5 separate regions of the Homo sapiens genome follow, and regions 1, 2, 3 and 4 are each linked to region 5. Evidence: promoter capture Hi-C in 16 types of primary human blood cells and fetal thymus (Javierre and others, 2016). All regions are on one chromosome and are shown on one strand. The core of a region is centred on a gene start or on the middle of the fragment in contact, and the rest is flanking DNA. Distances in the headings are between cores, read along the strand shown. Region 1 overlaps JAZF1 (JAZF zinc finger 1). Region 2 overlaps JAZF1 (JAZF zinc finger 1). Region 3 overlaps JAZF1 (JAZF zinc finger 1). Region 4 overlaps JAZF1 (JAZF zinc finger 1). Region 5 holds the start of EVX1 (even-skipped homeobox 1).

Evidence for each region. The method cuts DNA at HindIII sites, captures the fragments that hold promoters and counts their contacts. A CHiCAGO score of 5 or more calls a contact.
Region 1: a contact is called between a fragment that was not itself captured here and the fragment with the promoter of EVX1 in region 5, in 1 of 17 cell types (megakaryocytes). The highest score is 5.1, in megakaryocytes.
Region 2: a contact is called between a fragment that was not itself captured here and the fragment with the promoter of EVX1 in region 5, in 2 of 17 cell types (fetal thymus and megakaryocytes). The highest score is 6.3, in fetal thymus.
Region 3: a fragment that was not itself captured here is called in contact with the fragment with the promoter of EVX1 in region 5 in 1 of 17 cell types (fetal thymus); the score reaches 5.2 in fetal thymus.
Region 4: a fragment that was not itself captured here is called in contact with the fragment with the promoter of EVX1 in region 5 in 1 of 17 cell types (naive CD4 T cells); the score reaches 5.1 in naive CD4 T cells.

Annotation. Positions count from the first base shown.
Region 1 is chr7:27,961,982-27,965,188 of GRCh38, reverse strand. All of the region lies in intron 2 of JAZF1 (JAZF zinc finger 1), which reads left to right. Among named protein-coding and RNA genes, the nearest start is that of JAZF1-AS1, 220 kb to the left of the region's middle. The HindIII fragment of the contact is 1,386 bases long and covers 864-2,249 here.
Region 2 is chr7:28,022,112-28,025,297 of GRCh38, reverse strand. The region is part of intron 1 of JAZF1 (JAZF zinc finger 1); the gene reads left to right. Among named protein-coding and RNA genes, the nearest start is that of JAZF1-AS1, 160 kb to the left of the region's middle. The HindIII fragment of the contact is 341 bases long and covers 1,373-1,713 here.
Region 3 is chr7:28,037,640-28,041,054 of GRCh38, reverse strand. The region is part of intron 1 of JAZF1 (JAZF zinc finger 1); the gene reads left to right. It overlaps LOC105375208 (a long non-coding RNA gene), which reads right to left. Exons shown (of 4, transcript XR_001744910.3): 1 at 3,170-3,415; 2 at 2,858-3,006. Among named protein-coding and RNA genes, the nearest start is that of JAZF1-AS1, 140 kb to the left of the region's middle. RefSeq lists an enhancer at 2,954-3,415. The HindIII fragment of the contact is 2,117 bases long and covers 204-2,320 here.
Region 4 is chr7:28,094,497-28,097,992 of GRCh38, reverse strand. The region is part of intron 1 of JAZF1 (JAZF zinc finger 1); the gene reads left to right. Among named protein-coding and RNA genes, the nearest start is that of JAZF1-AS1, 84 kb to the left of the region's middle. The HindIII fragment of the contact is 3,348 bases long and covers 1-3,308 here.
Region 5 is chr7:27,240,496-27,244,087 of GRCh38, reverse strand. It overlaps EVX1 (even-skipped homeobox 1), which reads right to left and starts at 1,286. Exons shown (of 3, transcript NM_001989.5): 1 at 631-1,286. The coding sequence starts at 1,057. EVX1-AS (EVX1 antisense RNA) reads left to right here. Exons shown (of 4, transcript NR_120507.1): 2 at 2,078-2,173; 3 at 2,447-2,539; 4 at 2,638-2,659. RefSeq lists an enhancer at 791-1,668. The HindIII fragment of the contact is 5,233 bases long and covers 1-1,635 here.

The DNA of each region.
Region 1 (3,207 bases), core at 307-2,806, 720 kb before region 5:
AGAGCAACATTTTGGTGCTGTCAAGAGTTAAGATCTTTGCTTAGATTTTATGCTGAAGAACAGTATGTACATATTTTAACCTTTGTGTCTGATATATACTGAAATATGCAGTGTCAGTATCTATAAATGAAACCCTGTAGCTGTCGCAGCTGTCTTGACTTCTGAAAAACCTACAGCTCATTTCTAGTCATTCTCATGCTGATAATGTTAGAAAAAAGAAACACATGCGAACATACACTCTTCTCTGTCACAGATACCGCAATAAATTCCAGATCACAAGATATACTGGGAAAGGCATCTCTCTTGCTCTCTTTCTTTTTAAAATGACTTTTATTGAGATTAGTTTGACCATTTTAGCCAATATTTTAAGGACTAACAGATTCATGAGTTACCATTGTTGGCATCTGAGGTGACCCAACTAGCCTTTGGTAAGATTCATGACTACCAAAATATGTTGGTTCTTTTTTCCTTTGATTTCCTTGGTCATCTTCTGCTTGACTTCTTTTTAAAAACGTAATATACTGTGTCAGCCATTTTAAAAAAAAAAACTTTTTCTGATTATTAGGGAAATAGTAAAAAGTAAGCTTTGAAAATGGTTTTGGTGGTAGGGGTGGATCATTTATATTGTACCCATTCTTGTACAATATTTTAGGTTCAGTGGTTCAATTTTTTGAGTCCCATTCTAATTTTATAAGCATCTGTGGCAAGATTCTAATTGGGTCATACATTTAACTATTGTATCATGAGCATTCTCCATGTTGCTGCATCTTCAAAATTACTGTTTTAGTGGCCACATAATATTCCATAAGATAGAGTTCACCGAAACATGCCCTTCATTTCGTCATGATGGCTGCTTACAAGCTTTCATTATTATAAATTACACTGAAGCAAACATTTTTCATTGTTCCAAAAAAGATCCACCTAATGGATCTTTTTCCCTTTAGATCATTTTCATAGAACCTTTTCTCAGAAGTGGTTGGACTGGGGAAAAAGGATACAGATGTTACAATGCTATTTACCAGTGAGTTTCCAATTTTTGTAACAATTTTTGTGTGTTTTGGATGATAATATTCATTAAACATTTCCAAGGGAAAACTTAGTCTTTTTACTAAATCCCAAAACATGTTGGAGGAAGAGGGTATAATGGAAGCACTAGAGAAATTCACAATTGCCATCACTATATTATGGGTATATAGGTATATAAGCAACCAATTCAGATGTTGTCCTCATTCTTCATTGAAGAAATTGTGTTAAAAGAAAGTGCTGCTTACATCCAGCCCTTTAATCTTCAATCTACTTCAGTTTATTAAAAATGGAGCCATTGCCTGGCATGTTGGCTCATGCCTTAATCCCAGCACTTTGGGAGCCCAAGGTAGGAGAATTGCTTGATCCCAGGAGTTTGAAATCAGCCTGGGCAATGTAGCAAGACCTTGCCTCTACCAAAACAAAACAAAACAAAACAAAACCGGTGTGGTGACGTGCACCTACAGTCTCAGCTACTCGGGAGGCTGAGGTAGGAGGATCACTTGAGGCCAGGAGATCAAGGCTGCAGTGAACTGTGATTGCACCACTGCACTCCAGCCTAGATGACAGAGCAAGACCCTGTCTCCAAAAAAAAAGGGGGGGGGGGAATTGCAAACATTGATCCATTTGCTATCATTTGTGCAATTATTTGAATGTTTGTGACACATCACAACAATGTGCAAGACCCCAGGATTGACAGCTACCCCCAATTTACCATTATAACTTAATATGAGTAATCATAGGGAACAAGCATGGCAATTTTGAATTTGGAATGAAATAAAAGAGTAGTTTTTTTTCCTCATCCAAGCATTTGCTCTGATCCTCTTAACAGTTGGAAAGAGAGCTCCAAAGCTACATTGTTTCCAATTTAAAGTTAATTGAAATTTAACTGTGATATGGAGGAACATGATTATTACCATACTCCTAAAATTGTCCTTGACTTAAATAGAAAATGTTTGCAGAATGCTGTATGCCAAATTGTAACGTAGTATACATGAGAACATATTCCCCAGAAAATTCTGTATTATTATGTATTCCCCTTCATTCACAGAAAATCCATCCCAAAGAATTAAACTTTGCAGCACAATCTGAATTTGGAATTCAGATTCCCTAATAATGAAGGTTTGCCATGTTCAGCTTGCTGAGTTTATTAAACAGGTGAATGCTAACCCCACACAGTGAAGTTTTAAAAGGAGGGATAGTGGGTAGATCATTTCTGTTAAGCTTCAGAGCTTCAGTCTATTCATTTAACAAGGACAAAAAAGATTTGCAGTGTATTTCAGAAAGGCATATGTAGGATTATTCCACAGCAAGGGCCAAAGTTCAAATTCCCTAGAATATCAGGGGAAATTCTCCCCTCAGCATGTTACTGTTTTTAAAACAACTGCTTTTCTTGCTGATTAGACGTGATTTTAATTCCAGGACTAAATACAAAATGAAAGCAGCAGATAGGGAAGCCCTTGCATATCTTCTTGCTTTTACCCTAAGCCTGGCCATTAAAGGTAATTAATTTATGGGCTGGCAAAGCCTACTGCCTTTCCTCTATGGATTTGTTAGTTCTGCATTCAATATGGGATTCCAAATATAACTTGTATCCACCATTTATAAAATACAAGGACTGATCCCTTTGGCTTCTCTTGTCCCTCAGAGATTCCAGGATTAGCATGAAAGCTTTCTGTTTTTAGAAAAGCAAGTCTTGACTCTCTGTGGATTGGGGAAGACTGTGAATCACCCAGCCATGAGAGCCAGTTGGATAAACTTTTCATAAGTGATGCATATGAACTGTGAGGCTTGGCCTTCCTAACACTTAATGGGTATGGTTGTCAGGGTAATTTCCTGAATATTACTATGATCACTTTTACCCTTTTTTAACATAACATCAACAAAGGCACATCTACAATCAGAAAATGTTGAGGAAAATGATTTCATACTTCTTACCTATGTGTATTTCCTCTTGTGTACAGTTAGTCTTGTTTTTGGTAAATATTCAATAAATTAAGTGAGAATATCCATACTGCAGTGAATCGTGTTGTTGTACATGAAGACTCTCAAGAATTCACATCAAACAAAAGTTGATATGAAAAAGCAAAGAGTGTTTATGATCACTATTTAAATAATCTATTATTATGGCTGAGATGCCATCTTCATTTTATAGATAAGGTAACAGAGCTCAAAAAGGTTACT
Region 2 (3,186 bases), core at 294-2,793, 780 kb before region 5:
TGAAGAAAGTAGAATAAAGGGTTGACTGGGTTGTTGTTAAGTATGAGGACAAATGTTCTTTAACACTATCATTGGTAAGTGGCATTTCTCCAGCAGGGAGGTGACAAAGTAGCTAAACCCCAAGAGGGGAAGAGTGTGACTAAGCCAGTAACAGCCCTGGACACTCAACGGACATTGTTGCTGGGTCACCAGGTTAGGATTGGGGATTATAGAAAGGTGTTAGGGAACAGAACCATTGTCCTGAGTTTGTCAGACCCAGAGAAGAGCTTGGGCTGTAGCTGTGGTCACTGTTTCCCTGTGGTCAGGGCTTTCTCTTCCTGCAAGAAGCTTGGCTGTCTTTCAAAGAAGGAACCTCAGTCTATGATTCTGCTGGTCATGGTGCTTTAGAAAGTAGTTGGTCTATGGAATCCTTGTCAAGCAATACAGAGAGCACCCAGTGTCCCAATATGCTTGTTGCCCCTGGTAGATTATAAACTCCTTGAAGGAAAAGGTTCTGTCTGCGTTTCATGATCTCTCAAGTTGCAGGCTCAGGGCATGGCATGTCAGATGACAGAAAGTGAGCCCTTTAATCTCTCTGGGAAGCTTAATAAAGATTTTATCATCACTTCCTATCTTCCAAAGCATTCTCTACACTGCATCATTGGTATTTTGCCAGAGATGCAAAATTCATCATGTCCCTCTTCCATTCAGGGTCCTTTGGCTACTTATTGTTTATCACCAACTAGTGTTCTCATACCTGTTTCCTCATCTTCAAAATGATGATAATTATGGGAGGATTGTTTTGAGGTCTAAATGAGTATGTGTGTATACACACATGCCCACACCTGGTTATGTATGTGCATACCTCTAGCTCACCAAAATCCTCCTTTCTCCACCCTTGGACCCAGCCATTCTGAATATCTTTTTTCCACTCTTTCACCATGTTTTTTTCTCTCCCTTAGAACTTTTAATATGCTGTTCTCTCTTCTTAAACATCTCTCTCTCTCTCTTTGTTTTTCTTTTTGTGACAGAGTCTTGTTCTATCACCCAAACTGGAATGTGGTGGCGTGATTACATCTCACTGCAGCCTCAACCTCGTGGGCTTAAGCAGTCCTTCCGCCGCAACCTCCTGAGTAGCTGGGACTACAGGTGGTGCCACCATATTCATTTTTAAATTTTTTATTTTATTTTTTTTTTTTAGAGATGGGTCTTGCTATGCTGCCCAGGTTGGTCTTGAAGTCCTGACCTCAAGCAATCCTCCCACCTTGGCCTCCCAAAGTGCTAGCATGTCAGGCATGAGCCACTGTGCCTAGCCCTAGATATTTCTTTTACTGCCGCTCCTGACTTTCTGCTCTTCTTCCTTAAACTTAAATGTTATCTATTCTAAGAAGCTTTCCTAATTTTCCAAGTGTAGGTTAATATAGTGTTTTTTCTAGGTGCTCATTTCTTAATGAAGCATTTATATCTATAGCATCTATAAGTCCTTAAGGTAGCTTAATTTACCAAGCATTTATTACATTGGGCTGTCATTGTCTGTCTACCTGTCAGCCTCTCTCTTACTAAAACTGTCCACTCCATGAGGGCAGGAACCTGTCCGTATGGTTCACTTTGCCTTAGCGCCTAGCCCAGTGCTGGACTCATTAACACGCATTCTAAAATACTTAACAGTATTTCCTGAATGGATGAGTGGATGAATACAGGTTAAGCAGGAAGGTCTGTCCTAGGAATTAAGCTTGGTTGTTAAGTGGTTCCAAGTTTCAATATCATGTGTGGAGTAGATTCTTGCTAATTCTTGTATTATGTGTTATTTAGACACCAGGAATCTGGAATTTCAGAATTCACTTCTAATTCTTCAGATAACCTTTTTTATTTTCTCTTAAAACCTTAGTTTTCCTCATGAATGCAAACATAATTGGAAAATCGTTTCGAATTACTTACATCCTCATTTATGATATTTGAAAAACAGCTTTTGTGGGAGCTCAGCTTTGTCCATAAGAGCAAAGGCTTAGCAAGGGAAATTACTTCAGTGAATCTGTCCTTCGGTATATTGGAGAAAGGGAGGTAAATTAGTCATTATCACTTCAAAATTTTCTATAGAACTACAATGCTTCACGGCTGGACTCGTTTCTGTCTTCCTTCATGGAGTCCTTGCAAGGCCATTCTAGGCCATGGTAATCTCATCTAGGTGTGAACCTCACAGACGTTGTTTGTACTACCCCTGTCTTAAGTCATTCTTGTATACCATCATTATTGTATACCATTATTTGTTTTTCCTGTGTGTTTGTCTTGTATCCTCACGAAGCACCGACCTCTAGAGAATAAAGACTTCACCTCACATCTCTTTCAATACTGCCTGACATCCAGCACAGCTTTATGTAATTTGGTAATTTTTTACAAAGTGAAATATGGTGGCACGTGCCTGTAATCCCAGCTACTCGGGAGGCTGAGACACGAGAATCACTTGAACCTGGGCAGCGGAGGTTGCAGTGAGCCAAGATCATGCCGTTGCACTCCAGCCTGGACAACAGAGACTCCATCTCAAAACAAACAAACAACAACAAAAACAACAACAACAGTGAAATATTAAAGAAAATCTTCAGGTATAATAAGTGAAAAGATAAGACTGACTCCATTTTAAAAATATATATGCAAAGAAGACTAAGAGAATAGTAAAGGATATAGTAAAATGCACAGCCTGAACTATGTTTGGATAGTTGATTATGGGTAACTTGTTTTTTATAATTTTCTAGATTTTCCACTTTTTCTGTAGTCATCTGTTATTTTTGATCAACAAAAAAGTATAAATGTTATTATTTTTTAAAGGAAGAGATTTTCTTCCCCTAGTGTCAGAAGCCACAGCTGAACTTTGTTGGCAGATAGGAGCAGATGTTGTCCTAAACTGTCTCATTGCAGCAAAGTTTATCCATTTGTTAGAACGGTCAGGAAAAGGTGGTGCCAACTGCATTCTTTTGGTGGAAATTTGAAAAGATTTTTTCTGGAAAAGCAGTTAAGGGCAGTGCTGCCATGGTGTGTTTTTGAAAGCTATGCTTAAGAAGTGGGAAAGTTACATAATATGGAGAAATTCAGATGAAAACCCAATTTTCTTAACAAATCTCTTAGAAAATATTGTTGTGACGATATTGTTCAATGCTGTCTGATTTATCTGAGCATATCCTTAGGTCTTTGAGACTGGGTTTCATAGAAAAC
Region 3 (3,415 bases), core at 13-2,512, 800 kb before region 5:
ATTTCTGAAAGAATTTGTGTCTTTGAGAGCACACTGTGTTATCTATGTAATAGAAATAATCTCTGTGGTTTCTAGATGGGTCTTCTTCCTTTCCTTAATAGAACATTAAGGAACATAGTGTCTGCTATGTTGAATTTGGGGCATATTAAATTAAATATTAGCCGATTAAATGGAATATCTAAAGTGATTCTTGGGATAAAGCTTGTTAGAGAATTGTGGTCTTCTACCTTACGTCGCTGCAGTCACTGGCATCCATCTCTGAATTCCATTCCCAATTCCTCTCTTAACTCTGGGCGATCATGGAATTGCTGTACATTAGTGTTTTATCATACCATTCTTTTAAGTGGGTATCTAAAACTCCATATGTCCAAAATACAACTCTTGATCCCACCAAACACACTTCTACACCCCGACACCCTCATCTGCCGGGTGGCCTAGACTCTATGGCTGCCTTCCTCCTCCTCACACCTGTCTGGCTCATTCCCACCTCCCCACTGTGGCACCGTGTATCCCTCTCTCTGAGATGTTTACCCCCAGACTTTGTGTAGCCAACTGCTGATCATTTAGGACTTGACATAAGTTCTTCCTCTTCACAGAGGCCTTACCAGTCACTCTTGATTACATTACTCTTTAATTTTCTTTATAGTACTCATCTCTCTTCGATATTTTCTTACATATTTGTTGTTTGTTATTTTCCCATCTAGATTGTAAACTGCACAAGAACAGGACCTTGCTTGCCCCACTTGGAGCAGTATCTGCCTGGCACATAGTTGGCACTCAACAGATTCTTAAAGGAGTGGGTGAATGAATGAATAAAAAAATGAAACTGGCTTTAGATTTTTTTTATGTGTTTAAAGGGCTCAAACATTATGTAAAATTGAAGACTTCTGACAGTTTAATTCATTTTTAATAAACGTAAGGTTTTTCTTTCATGTGTAAAGAATACCCTTTAATAATACTTTAGGTTTGCATTATCTGGACTCTCAGCATTTTTTAATGTGTAGGAGTCTTCAGTTTGAGGACTTTCTGAAAGGCTAACTTTAATAACATCAGACCTGCCATTTCCACAGGGCTTAGAATAAATTCCAAAATGCCAGAGAAAATTAAATGCAAAAAAGCTCCAGTTAATTAATGTTTCAGAATAAATTAATGCTTTAGGCCTGACTTTAACTGACAAGTATAGTGAATTTCAAAGTTAAAACTGCCACCCTTTCCCCACGTCTGTATTTTGTGCTGTATTCAGTCATTCCAGTTATTTATATCCTTGGGGCGGGGGGAAGGAGACATATACACGTTGAATTTTAAATTAAAGTAAGAAACACAATTACACTGATTATTCTTAGGGGAAAGGGTTTTAGCATTCCTCATAACTCTCTTTAGTTATGCGATAATTCCAAAATTTTCAGAGTTGAGAATGGGTCCTAAATATCTTTACTTGTCCCCAAGATGCTGTAACATACTGAAAAGAAAGGAAGCTAACATTTATGTGTGTAGTGTGTTCCAGGGACTATCTTAGCTTCATATATCTCAGTAAGTCAGTTATAATATTGGTATTTGCATGGGGCAGGGGAGGCACATTTTCATCTTGTCTGATTAATTTCTTACTTATTCTTGGATCTTAGACCATAGAAAAGAATTGGCAAAAACATGTTACACTTCTTTCTGACTTTTTCTTCTTCCTTGTCTTCCCTCTGTCACTTCCTGAACCTCAGTTTCCCCGGTTGCAAGATAAATACATCTATCTCATAAGACTGAAATAATAAGGGGTGTGTGTGTGTGTTTGTATGCACGTGCGCATGTGCGTGTGTTCCCAATATGGTAGCTAATACCAAAGCATTTTTTAAAACATTAGAATGTTCTTGGAGGAGCCCTGCACCAAGGAGGGCTAAGTAAGTCTCCAAGGTCTCTTTAAACCTTAAGATGCTATGAGCTTACGTTCCATATGCAGAGCAATCATGAATCTTTTTAAATTTAGCATGCTTTGCCTCTAATTTGCCACTCTTTATTAATTTGTTAACACAAATATTTTAGTATGCAGGTCTAATCAATGTGCTAAGCATTAAAGTTGTAGAGATAAAAGATAATACCTGCTTACATTCTGCTTTGTTCCACAAAAGAATTTGAGGTAGAGATAAAAGGAACAGTTCATACCTCATCATGAGCATGGTTTTTTGTACAATACTTTATACCAAGCATGGACAGTGAAGCTGAATATGTACTAAACTACCGATATGTTCAGCAAATCTTTTGCTTTAAATAAATTTGTATCTTTTTTGTAGTTTCCTACTTTCTTATAAAAGTCATATGGAAAGGAAAAGCTTCAGCTCATCTGGAATTCTGTTTGGTTGGGTTTTGACTTTCAGTTAATCAAGGATTTGCTGGAGTTATGGGGTGTGTGCATGCTTCTTTTTTTGGAATTTTAGTTATGTGATATTTGCAAGTAATTCTTGGGAACAAGAGTTTCAAACCTGAATGTTCACAAGAAATAACAATATTATAAAAAGCAGATGTTAAACAGTTTTGTTTAAATAAAAAGGAAGATTATCTCTAATATTTGTAAATGCTTGAAAGAAAACAACAAATTCCGTAGTAGAATTTTTATCTTGTCTTCCTTTCTTTAGTTCAGTTATGTAAACAAAATTATATGAATCATGTACTTAACAAGTTCAAGTCTACTTTGGATTTATAGTGTCAGAATCATAAAACCCTGAAAAATGAGCTTATATCTACTAGTTATGCTAATACAAGCACAGTGAGAAGCTATTTGCCACAATCATTCCCCCATCCCAAAGTTTATAGGCTGTATGTTTTCTTTCACCTGAATTACTCTAATATAATATGTTAATGTTTCATTTACCTTGCCAAAAATAGGTTACCCACTTCATGGAAATTCCCATTCTCCTCTGTTCTTTGTATTGTGTTGCATTAGCCCATTGGTTCTGGTATTTTCTTCCTTTGTTTGGTACCATTTGTAAGAATTATCAACTGAGTTTCATGCATTCTCTGCTGGAAGAAAAAAAGCTTTTTATTTTTCCTATTTGAAATTGTGATGTTGGCAATGAAAATTCCAAAATCTCTCTGCCCATTTCTAGTAAAGCAATTTATGCATACATGTGACTAGAGTAGAGAAAAGTGAGTTTGACGTAGAAATTATGAGGAGACATATTACCTGGAGACATCTGTGATAATTCATGCTGTCCAAAAATGGCATGAACCAACTCAGCGAAAGATTCCTTGTTGCTGGGGGTGTCCTGGGTGTCTGGAATTCATTAATAAGATTTGAATAAGGAACCTTTCCATCCACACATCTCTGGATATGGAACAATCCTGTGAATTGGCATTTAGAAAGAGGGTTCATTTTGACCAAGTGTGTTCAACCTGAGCCCAGTTTTTAATAAAATGGAGATGAAATAGA
Region 4 (3,496 bases), core at 385-2,884, 850 kb before region 5:
GTGCTTCAGTTTCATCATGAGATTTAATAATAATAACTACGTTATGGAATGGTTTGAGAATTTAATGAGTAGCCTGGAGCTGGGCACCCCTGTGCAGAAGTGCATAGTGTTCTGGGTTTGGTTAAAGCAGATTGCTGTGTGGCTGCTGGGAGTCATGGCATTTCCAAGATTTACCTCTTTCCTGTCACCCTCCCATTTCTACATGCAAAATGACCTCCCAGACTCTAGCAGGCCTGTGGCTGCCACCTTTCTTTTTAGCTCCCCGAACCTTCCCCTTCATTCAGCTACCTGAAATCCCACCTCCTCCCAAAGGACTTGCTGACTGATTCGTAGACAGCTGTGATTTCTTCTTGCCCCACCCTTTATATATCCAGCTCCTTCAGCTCTCCCATTTCTTGCTTCAGAACACAATGTAGGTCCATTCACTTAAGTTAATGTACCTGTGTTGTTCTATTGTATCAATGTGTGTGACTTCATCTATTTTAGGAAACAAGCTCTGAGGCAGGAATTTGGCTTAACTAATTTATACAGGGCTTAGTAAAAGGCTCTGTGGAATTAGAGACACCTAATAAATGCTTCAGACTTTTGAATTGATGCTGTAATCATTTTAATGGAGGCTGATGTTGTATGTGTTTAAACAAATGGCATGTTTTCCAGCAACATTCTGGCAAATTAGCAGCATCTAAATTTAAAAAAAAAGTCTGTACTTAGAAAATGAATTTTGTAAACTGTGGTAACATGCAGTTATTTATTGCTGAGCTGATTTAAGCAGAGGCCCAAATGCAGTGGTGGGAGCCAAGATTTCATTTTTTGCAATATTTGTTTTCTGAAAAGTTGGTTAGTGTGGCAGAGGTTGGGTGGGAAAGTGGGGGTGGGGGGTGATTTAAAGGCATTATTGTTAACTTAATGCATATTTTAAAGAGTTAGTTAAAAACCCTTTATATTAGGTTAGCAGGTGTGATTTGGCACCATTTCTTTCTACACATGTGCCCTTTTCATTAGGAATGTGTGCCTGATGTGGTGCAGATGGCATTTAAGCCACTTGGTAATATTTTCCACAACCTGTTCTTAGTAATTAGGCTTGAATTTGCTGTTTCAAAATACTGAACGTCTTTTGGCAACTTTGTAAAAACGAAGGAACTTGAAATGTGGTCAGTATACCAGCAGAGGGCAGTGTAAGCCAGTGTTTCATTTGCAGTCAGCTTCCCACGGCCATGGCTGCTTTTCCACACCCCAGAGCTAGAATGTTCCCATTACTTTATTTGAGATATAGATGCAATTTGAGAATTAAAAAAAAAATTGCAAATGAAAAAGTTAAAAAATAGTCTCTTATTGGCCATCTTGTAGTAAGAAGATAAATTGTTCAGAACAGATTTGAGCTGCAGTTCTGTTTTATGAATTTTTCCTTGAATCGTCTATCAACATGCATGAATGATTATGTGAAAAGTGTAGTTCTTATGTAAATCATTTTGCTAATGCACTTAAAAGACAAAATATTTAATTTGATTATAGATGTTTTTCCTTGCTCAATAGTGGATAGTAAGATTTTCATTATGTCTGTAAGGGTTTCAGTTATTTTTATGACAAGGGAAAGGTCATTTCCGACATATATGGTCCAGTCAAGTTAACCTTCAGAGAATTAACAGCAAAGGACTGCTTCTTGTCATAGCTTATTGTGCTTTATAACCAAAAGTGTTGCCTTTTACTCATAGTTTTTTCCTCACCACAGAACTTCTCGGACAACCCTAACCACTGGCCCTCTTGTTCCCTTCATTCTTGTTTTCTCCAACTCCAAGAGCGGACAGAGGCCCTGCCTCCCACTTCTCTCTTCAGTGGCCTCCCTCTCAGTTCTGCTTATCCCTCTCCCTTTTAGTGTCTTCTGTCTCACGCCATCCTTGATGCTATGGAATGTTTGTGCCCCCCCCAAATTTCATATGTTGAAGCCCTAACCCCCAGGATATTTGGAGATGGAGCCTTTGAGGGGATGATGAAGGTTAAATGAGTCATACGGTTGGGGCCCAGTAAAGGCTAGTGCTAGTATAAGAAGAGGAGGAGCACCAGAGCTCTCCGTCTCAGCCGTGTGAGGACACAGCAAGAGGGCCAGCCTATGAGCCAGGAAGCAAGGCCTCAGCAGAACAGTCCTGATGGTGCCTTGATCTGGGACTTCTGCCCTCCAGAATTGCTTCTGTTGTTCAGGCCACTCTGGCTGTGGTATTCTGTTATGGCAGCCTAAGCTGACTGATGCCCTCTTAGGATCTCACAGGGATTTGACGTTCAGCGGAGGGGACCATGATTACCTGTTGGAAGGCAGCAGAGGCTCTGCTAGAAGGACAGGTGGACTGAAGATGAGCAGAAAGCCAGAGAACTCCTTGAGGTAGGGACTTGATATGGTTAGGGTTTGTGTACCCACCCAAATCTCATCTTGAATTATACTCCCCATAATCCCCACGTGTCAAAGGAGAGACCAGCTGTAGGTAATTGAATCATGGGGGTGGTTTCCCCCATGCTGTTCTCATGATAGTGAGTTAGTTCTCACAAGATCTGATGGCTTTGTAAGGGGCTCCTCCCCCTTCACTTGGCACTTCTCCTTCCTCCCTGCTTGTGAAGATCATGTTTTGCTTCCCCTTCACCATCCGCCATGATCGTAAGTTTCCTGAGGCCTCCCCGATAATGCTGAACTGTGAGACAATTAAACCTCTTTCCTTTATAAATAACCCAGTCTTGGGCAGTTCTTCATAGCAGTATAAAAATGGACTAATACAGGGCTTGCCTAGGAGGCCCAACAGAGTGAACAAATATGTAGAATGATTGTGGTGCTCTTGATGGAGAATGAAGAGAGGGACTGGGATGAAACTGAAGACTTGTGGGAATAAGATGGGAGAGGTTGCGTGGAGCCTTGAAAGTGGTTTGGCTTTGGTGCTGTGGGAGCTTCTCAGATTCGGAGATGGCACACCCTTGGGGTACATGTGGGTATCAGGTAAGCCAAAGCATAGAGACTGTGCCCTTCTCTGGGGTGCCAGTTTTTCTGGATGGAGCTTCTTTCTTGTTGGGACTCCACATGTATTTCTGTGTGTTTCCTCCTTGTCGTCTTACTAAGGGAGCTTTGGTAGGACGATTGAGGGCAGTGGAGGAAAGAGGGCATTGTTAAAACATCATGAGCAGGCGCAGCTCGGCCCTTGGTCCCCTCTGGCCACAGGGTGGGGCTGAGCTGGCAAAAAAAATAAAAAATAATAATTTTTAAAAAGCACCATAAGCAAAACATGAATAAGTGGAGGTGAAGCAGGTGTTCTTGCCTGGAAGGAGAAGCTTCGGGTCTGCTTGCCCATGTTCCTTCTGCCAGAAAATTTCAAGTGCTGGGTGCCTACTGGGTTCCTTCTTCCCCCATGGCATTCCTGTAAGATAAATGGCTGCTTTTCAGCAGATGACAGTTTGGAGACAGAAGTTATTAATGTGTATAGGGTCGCAAAAAAGTTAGCTGATGTGTCAGAACAGAAAC
Region 5 (3,592 bases), core at 37-2,536:
CTAGGAAGGAAAGGGGAAGGGGGGAGGACCCGATCTCTGCCTTTTCAAATGCAACCGGAGACCAAAGGCAATTAGACCATTGGGACCATTTCCGACCTGGCGCCGCGAAGCCCGGGAAGTGACAAGGTAATTTGGACCTCTGACCGACGTGCAAACTGGTCGGAGGGCTGCAGCACCCGGGCTGCCCAAGTGGGCCGCAATTTTACGGTCCTTTATGGACTCCTGGCTTCCGCGCCTCCATGCCTCTTACACCCTGCCAGCCACAAACTGCCCGGATCGGCGTTTGATCTTGCCCTCGCCTGGGGAAAGTGTCTTCCCCGAGCAATTGAAGCATTCCCCGAGCAGTTGAAACACTGGGTGCTTGGGGTGAGCTTCGAATCCCCCAAGTCCAGGACTTGCATCCGCCCCCTCAGCACCCCGCACTCAAGGCACTGCTGTCACCCTCAGTCCCGCCAATGCCAGAACACAGTAGGAGACCCCCGCCAGAACGCAGATAGCAGAGAGAGTTGCTCAGGTGGGTCCCCCCAGCCATCCTGCCCTAGGGGAAGGGAGTGTCTTCCTCCTGGCCTGCGCCGAAGTGAAGGGTGGGCGCAGTGGGAGGCCCGGGGAGCGGAGGGGCACGGTGGCTACCTTTGCTGTGCTGGTACTCGGCGTTCCCGGTGGCGCAGTCCGGGGTGCAGCTCACCTCGATTTCTTCATAGAAATCCGACTCGGTGTCCGAGCTACTGGGTTGCCCCTGTCCGGAGAGGCTGTCGACTGAGGGGGCCGGGGGTCCTGGGCCGAGCATGGCCGCCCCAGCTACCTGGGGCTCGGCGCCCGGCCCCGCCGCGCTGCCTGCGAGTCCATCTACCGGCTCCTCCTCCGGGCCTCCCCCGCCGCGCTCCCGGGTGGCCGGAGGGACGGCCCGAGGGCTCAGGCAACCACGGGGCACCATTTTCTCGGGCGGCTCCGGCAGCGGGCTGCCCACGGCTTCGGACAAATTTGAGACTCTCTTGCCAACCAGAGTGCCAAGCTGACCCCCATCCAGAAACACAACCATGTCCTTTCGGCTCTCCATCCCGGGGCTCTCCGGTGGGGGAGGGGAAAGCCCCAAGTGAGTTCCTAACCCCGGCTCCCTGGGTCTCCAGCGGCCGGACGGATCTTGGTTGCAAGAGGGAGAAAGAAAGGCCGGGTGCCTGGGAGGGCGCGGAGCTGCTGGAGCGCGGTCTGGACCGCGACCGCGGCGGTGGCGGTGGGAGCTAGGGTCACCTTGTGAAGCGAGCGCTCCTCTGTGCCGCACCGCCTCTGGGAGGAAGCCCCATTGCCCTCTTCTTTCTAAGCTGTCATCCTCCTGCTGCAATCGTCATTACAGTACCGCTGGTGACGCCACTCGGCGAGCGCAAGTGGATAAATAGAAACGTCTGCCACAGCGAAGATGAAAGGAAACCCGCAGCTAATGGCTCGGCAGTGATGCGCCAGGTGTGGGCCTCGCTCGATTGGGGAGGAGAGTGTGAAAACAGACAGAGAGACACACACACTGAGAGAGGGAGACACCCAGGCAGAGGGGATGCAAATGGAATTCCGCAGAAAGAAAAGAGAGCTTAACGCGCGCGGCGAGTTCCGCAGGGGCAGCGGGACTCGGTAATTAAATAAGCTTTTGATTTTTTCTTTTATTGTTGTTTTGACTTTTGTTTTCTTAACTTGGTGCCTTGATCTAACACCGATGAAAGAATCCATAACTGCATTTTAGAAGTGTGAAGCCCGGCTTACAAGCCTCAATTCTGTCGGCATTATTACAACTGTCTGCCCCTGGCAGCTAACCTCAAACTGGCTGAAAAGTCTTTTTACAAGCTACGGAAAAATGTATTCCCCCGCCCCAAGTTGACTGGAGAGCTTGAGGCTGGGCCATCTTTTCCTCTTTTCTCCTCCCTCTCCCTACCCACCTCTGTCTCCTTACTCCTGCGAACCAAACTTTGCTATTTTTCTTCCCTAAGGGGCAAGAAATAAATACCTTATTATTATTTTTTAATTTAAAGACCCGCCTTGGCTTCTGTAAGAGTGTGTGCTGATTTCTTTTAAATACCTCCTTCCCATCTAGATGGCCTTAAGTTTTCCACAGCCTGGCTTCATCTTGAGATGGCTATTCGTACAAGAAGTCGCTTTCCCGTTTGCCTGGACCTCGCCTGCACTCCAGGTATGTTGGGTGGGGAGAGTTTCTAAGAGTTGTCTTTTTTTTTCCCTTGCCCATATTTTAAAGTATTCGTTCAGAATCAGCGAAGTCTCCTGGAAAGAGGTTTTTCGAATGAAGAGGCGCCAGGAATGCGGCCCCTGCTGTGGCAGTACTGGAGGCCCCTACTTGGGAGAAGGCAGTAGCTTTCACCGCGCTATTTTGGGCAGGGGTTCAGCCTCCCCGAGTACAAAAAGGTTGGGGTTCATAGAGGTTTGACTCATAAGGTCCTCTCCCAAGTCCCTGCCTAGGGGCAGTGGTACCTGTCTCCAAAAGTGGATGGCGTTTGAGGTAGAAGAGAGTGAAGTCGCTGAAAATGCCCTAAAACAGCAAGTAAGTAGGGACTCTGATGAAGGGCTGGAGGTGGGGGCAGGGGTTGTGGAACTTAATATCTGGAAGCTGCCATAGGCCTCTCTTGGCTCCTCTCCCAGGGAAGAAGCTGGTATAAAACTCCTTCAAACTGACCCTTTTTGAGCTCCAAGCAAGTGTGCTGGGGCCAGGTGGGTGGGCTGAGTCTATCCCCACATTGCTGAGAGCAGGAGGTGGGCACCTTCTATGCTCAACCCCCCTTTCTCCGCCTCCTCCCGAAGAGCTTCTAGCCCTAGGCAGCCAGCTGCAAAGGGCAGCCCAGCACCTCCCTCCTTTCTGTGTCCCTAGCAAAGCCCCAGCTTTTACAGGTAAGTCCTCTTCCGTGACCTTTTTATCTGTTATCTCCTACTTTTCTCTCCTCCTTTTTCTCTTTCTGTATTCTTCTCCTTCTTTGCTTCTCTCCTCCATCTTCCTATCCATAGGGTTAAGGAAGGTAGAGGAAGTAAGGGGTCCAAAGAAAGACAAAGTTTCCTCTTCACTCCGGCTTTCCACTTCTCTTTCAGTCTAAGACGATGTTCATTAATCTTGCCTGGGGGCGGAGGCAGCGGGATCCGGAAGGTAGTGTCCACATAGATATTTCTACTCCTTGGGACTCCTGAAGCCACTATATGCTGAGCACTGCTAGCCCCAAAATCCAGGGAAATGTTTTAGAGGTGAGAGGATCAATTGGGAGTGAGGGGAGTCAAATCCTAGAACCTTTTCCTGCCTTGGAGAGCTGTCCAGGTATTCTATCTTTCTCTGTCCTCCCTACCAGCAGCCACAGCCTGAGGGAGCACCTGGCTTGCTCTCTTTCCTGTCAATGGCAAGCCCCCTGGGCATCTGTCTTAGAGCTTCCAAGGTTGCCTACTCTCTATAGGGCCCTCCAGCACTGGGCCTTTGAGGTGCCCACCCTCCTTTCCTCCTTGAGCGCTTAACCTTCTCGTGAGTAGCCTGCTGCCCCCATCTCCTGGGGGCTGGGTCCTCAGAGGGACTCCTGGCTCCCCACCCCGCCCCCAGCTCTGCATTCAATGGGAATCC